Regions from separate parts of the Homo sapiens genome. Here region 2 is linked to region 1. The links are contacts of gene promoters, found by promoter capture Hi-C in human tissues and cell types (Jung and others, 2019). All regions are on one chromosome and are shown on one strand. The core of a region is centred on a gene start or on the middle of the fragment in contact, and the rest is flanking DNA. Distances in the headings are between cores, read along the strand shown.

Region 1 (2,713 bases), core at 143-2,642:
ACAGGCATGTGCCACCACATTTGGCCAACTTTTTAATTTTTTTATCGAGATGAGGTCTAACTTTGTTGCCCAGGCTGGTCTCAAACTCCTGGGCTCAAGTGATCTTCCCACCTTGGTCTCCCAAAGTGCTGGGATTACAGGCATGAGTCATTGTGCCTAGCACAAATTCATGCCCAGATTTTAAGTGACTGCTCCAATGCATTCAGTGAATAATTAATATGATTTAAGAAACACTATAATAATAAATGTATTTCCTGGATCTCAAAAAAACTGTGTTCATGTATTTACACATATTAACCAGCCAGGGTCACTGATAAGTCACTGAATACTTCATATAAACTACTTAAATCAAACATTGACAAATGCTGCCCTTTTTATACAATGTGTTTTGGTCAGATCACAAAACAACTTAAATTTGGATTTTTGTGGTCTCCCCATGTATGAGTCCTCTTGAAAAGCTGCATGTTCTGACTATCACAATCGTATACCATTCCACACTGTACAGAATTTTCAGTATTTAGTTGAGATGCATGCTGTTCTTCCAGGACTTCAAATTATGAACTTCCCAGGGGGTTAGTCAGTCAAAATGCTGCTCTAGAGAATATAGTTCTAAGTAGATTTGTATCTGGGATTCTATACATTGAAATTAAAATCACAATGCATTTTAATTTTTTGTTTAAACATCTGCAGTTTAAAACTCTTTGATAGAAGAGATTACATTGTTAACCTCTGTGTGTTTATATGCCTAGTAAGACACTGGTATCAACCATGTACTATGTAATTTTTTAGTGAATGACTATACAGATTAAATGCAGTAGAAGGGCTTCTTTATATTTGTTATGGTCCTATGCATTCTGAATGGCTGCAATTTAATCTCTAAGGATAATGTAGAGTGGACTGTAGTTTATATAATTGTGCAGGGAAATCTTGGAAGATGTAAAAAGCAACGTCTCCAATTTATAAAAGAATCAGTGAGAATGAGGAAATAAGAAAGATGGGTGAAAAGAGGTGAAATTGGAAAGAGAAAACTTTGAGGACATTCAAAAGGGGGAAAGAAAGAATGGAGTGATGAGAAGAGGGGACACTATGGAGAGTGGAGGCAAAGTTAAGTGGAGAAACTGGAAGAACTGTGATCTATTAAAACAAGCAGGAACTGAAAAAATGACATGGTTTCTCCTTTTTATCTTACAAATGACATGCAAAATCCAGAGGGACAAAATGACCTTTCTTTCAATGCCATACACCACTTTGTCTAAGGCAGTTGAGGAAGGGAAGTAGATATAATGGAGCTTAGTGGCAGAGCAGCTGGAATCCTGAGAGAAGAGAATAACTTTAGTTCAGAGCAGGTGGGGAAATGAGAGATTGAGTAGGAGGACCAAGGTTGAGGGAAGCAGATCTTCTTAGTTGCTGTCAGCGGCTGATGGGGAAGATTGTTGGTAGAAGGAAGTCAGAATATAGGTACAGAGGGATAAGTTTGCTAAGAACAGAGATCAGCAAACAGCTTTTCTGAGAGAAAGAAACATCTGCAAATGACATGCTGTTTCTGCAGTTTCTGCTGCTAGCTCTTCTTCTCCCAGGTGGTGACAATGCAGACGGTAAGAACATCGCTGTCAGCTGCAAGGTTACATGTATCTGGGTAGAGTGTGCTGGGCTTTCCCGAGATGGATCAATAGAGATGCCAGAATGCTTGCCATCTGAGCATACCTGTCTCCAGGTCCAGTTTACTCTTTTGGAGGATGGTGGCAGAGCATGGGCTCTGTGTAAGGAAAATGTTATAGCTAAAGTAGTCATTAATGTTTCTCTGTGGTAACTGGTTCAATTTCCATTTCCTCTCCATTTTCCGTTAAAACAATCAGGGCCCAGGAAAATGATGTGGTTTCTCCTTTTTATGTTACAAATGACACGCAAGGTCCAGAGGGATGAAGCAACCTTTCAATGCCACGCACCACTTTGTCTAAGGCAGTTGAGGAAGGGAAGTAGATAAGATGGAGCTTAGTGGGAGAGCAGCTAAAATCCTAAGGGAAGAGAGTAACTTTAGTTCAGAGCAGATGGGGAAATGAGAGATTGAGTAGGAGGCCTAAGGTTAAGGGAAGCAGATTGTCTTAGTTGCTGTCAGTGGCTGATGGGGAAGATTGTCTGTTGGTAGAAGGAAGTCAGAATATAGATGTAGAGGGATAAGTTTGCTAAGAACAGAGATCAGCAAATGGCTTTTCTGAGAGAAGGAAACAACTGCAAATGACATGCTGTTTCTGTAGTTTCCGCTGCTAGTTCTTCTCCTCCCCGGTGGTGACAATGCAGATAGTATGAACATCTCTGTCAGCTGCAAGGTTACATGTATCTGGGTTGAGCATGATGGGCTTTCCCAAGATGGATCAATGAAGAAGCCAGAATGGTTGCCATTTGAGCATACCTCTCTCCAGGTCCAGTTTACTCTTTTAGAGGATGGTGGCAGAGCATGGGGCTCTGTGTAAGGAAAATGGTATAGCTAAAGTAGTCATTAATGTTTCTCTGTGGTAACTGGTTCACCTTCCATTTTCTCTCCATTTTCCTTGCCTCTCTTTTTTTTTTTTTCCTTACACTACTTGCCCTTCTTCCACCAAAAGCATCCCAGGAACACGTCTCCTTCCATGTCATCCAGATCTTCTCATTTGTCAACCAATCCTGGGCACGAGGTCAGGGCTCAGGATGGCTGGACGAGTTGCAGACTCATGGC
Region 2 (2,713 bases), core at 74-2,573, 140 kb after region 1:
CCTCATGGCATGGTCCCTCAGGGCTTCCCTTGCCTAGGGGAGGGAGCTCCCCAACCCCTTACCCTTCCCAGGTGAGGCAATGCCCCACCCTGCTTTGGCTCACCCTCTGTGGGCTGCACTCACTGTCTAACAAGTCCCAGTGAGATGAGCCAGGTACCTCAGTTGGAAATGCAGAAATCATCCACCTTCTGTGCTGATCTCACTGGGAGCTGTAGACTGTAGCTGTTCCTATTCAGCCATCTTGCCAGCCACCTAATTAATATAATTTCAACATCACTTTCCATCCCTATGTCAGTGGGTATTAAGGACTTCTAACAATACTTCGGTGATTAGTAAGAGCTCACCAATAATCTGGTTGATGAAGAAATAATGATACCAAAAACAAAAATGTTACTGAGAGCAACAAATGATGCCCAGAGAAGTAAGAAGCAAGAAGAGTGGCATTTAACATACCAAAATGCTGGACATTTGGTTTTTGTGGTTCACTCCCACTACTTATCCTAATAGTGGCCCAACTTTATTTTGGTTTGTTTTGTCTCCAGTCTCATCTAATTGCTTCATCCTAAAGTTTCAGAGAGCAATAGGTGCCATGCACTAACTCAGGTGGTCAGGACATTGGAGTTTCTTTGCTAAAATATCAGGTTAAGGATGGGCATATGCTCCAATTCTGGACAATCAGGAGCAAAAAAATTCCATCTAATGATGCTTATTTTAACATCTGATGAAACAAATTCTCTCTTCCTCTTGACTAGATTTTATAAGCTGAAAGTATCGAGACTACTGTGTTTAGCCTAAAAATAGAACCAAGTCACAAGAAGCAGCTCTATGAGATGCATCCAGATAATAGTTTGAACTTTGAATCAAGCTGTACCTGAAACCATTATACCACCAGATTTCTTAGCTTATGTGGGACAATAGATTTATTGCTTGCTAGTGCCAGTTTGAATTGGATTATCTGTTATTTACAACCCAAAAATTCCTAAATAATAAGAACATATCTCATTTCAGAAAGGATTTGAGATGATTTAAAATAGGTACTATTAAGGCAAGAATAAACATATTACATAGATATGTTAACAAATTAGGGCAAAGGTAAAGTAATGATGTACTAATAAGGTGAATTTTGGAGGACTCATGACATAGAAATATATTCCATGAGGCCCAATTTATTTACTAAATTTTAGACCAAAAATTAAACAGCAAATTTCACACTAGCTAATTCAATAGACAATATAAATATGTAAAAGTCATGTTGTTCACAGGTATAAAACATGCGAGGAATGTGATTTCTAATAGGGAAGTGTTGGCCATATTAATGAAACCCTAAGTAGTTATTGGATATCTGAGTAGAACGGAAGAAGTACTATGAAATAATGTGGCTGTACCACACCTTAAATATCAGATTTATAGCCTAAGTGAAAAGCATAGGTTTATTTATCTTGCCTCAGCCCACCCAGATGTCTGGTTTATGTGAATCATTACTCTGGATGAAGATTGTCCAGACCTTCCCTAGTACAATTCCCACTCTCCAACCTCTTCAGGGCCTCAGGAGTTCGAGATGACAAAGGACAAGACATGAGGACTTACTGTGACTTATTTCCAAACATCCCAGCCCATTTACCCATATTTCCTCTCCCTTCCGTAAAACAGACACAAGAGTGTGGTTCTGCAGCCCTTGAACTGAATAACTTCAACTTCTGTTATTTTGCTCCAAAGAGCATTTCAAAATCACCTGACATTTCCATACCACCCACCTTATTTTTCTCTTCTCTTCTCAATAGTTCCTTCTTTTAAAATTATGCCTGGCATTCCTTCACATCTTTGTTTGTTCTTCTTTTTCGTGGTCTGAATTTCAGAGACCTATCTCACTTCCTTGCTCTACAGGCATCTCTCCAAGAAGAACTAAAAGGATGAAAGCCAAATATCCCTCTTTTGCTCAGTTTTTCTCCTTCCACATCCTCTATATTCGTCCTCCTGCACAGTCAGGATAAGTCTCAGCCTGAAATGGGAATAGTTGAAAAGGAGAGGAGAGGAGGAAATAAGTAATCCATTCTAAGTGTCAGATCTCTGAAGTTCAATTTTGTCTCTGGGCTGTGGACCAGATGGCTCATAGCCAGGCCCCCAGTGTGTTTTTAGGTTGAGGGCAGGTTGTGAAAAATAACAGAGAGAAATGCCTAATGCCAGCATACAAATGGATATTGGTATAAGTTCATTTTTCAAAATAGGAAGTAACTGACACATGATAATCGATTATAAAAATAATCAAAATCATTGTAGAAATGTATTTATTCATTTATTTGTTAGATACTTTTGCTATAAACAGAAGGTTAAACATTTTATTAAGTATGTATTTACTGAATAACTACTCTATGACTTAGACTATTCTGATAGTTCTGGGGTTGTAAAGATAAATGAGATACAGTTCTTGTCCTCATGGAGTTTTAATATATTTATGGAGTAAGAAACAATTAGAAAACAATAGTGTTTTGTATATTAAACTAACAATTTATATCCATAAACTAGAAATTGTCCATTATTCCTTTGCCTTTGTATTTTCAATTTAGCCTTTCAATCTGATTCTTTCCTAAATTTTAAGAAACTTTTATTATAGTGTAACATACACAAAAGTACACAAATCAAAGTCTGTACCTGGATTCACAAAGTGACACACACCAATCCACAATGAAATTTAGAAGTAGAACATTACCCACTT

What was found. The method cuts DNA at HindIII sites, captures the fragments that hold promoters and counts their contacts. A contact is called where the count stands out against the background at its distance.
Region 2: a fragment that was not itself captured here is called in contact with the fragment with the promoter of CD1C in region 1 in 2 of the 25 tissues and cell types used here (spleen and thymus).

The regions. Positions count from the first base shown.
Region 1 is chr1:158,288,531-158,291,243 of GRCh38, forward strand. CD1C (CD1c molecule) reads left to right here and starts at 1,393. Exons shown (of 6, transcript NM_001765.3): 1 at 1,393-1,595; 2 at 2,604-2,713. The coding sequence starts at 1,535. It also overlaps a transcript of CD1B not described here. The HindIII fragment of the contact is 10,692 bases long and covers 1-2,713 here.
Region 2 is chr1:158,433,257-158,435,969 of GRCh38, forward strand. No RefSeq gene overlaps it. Among named protein-coding and RNA genes, the nearest start is that of OR10K2, 8.4 kb to the left of the region's middle. The HindIII fragment of the contact is 5,463 bases long and covers 1-2,713 here.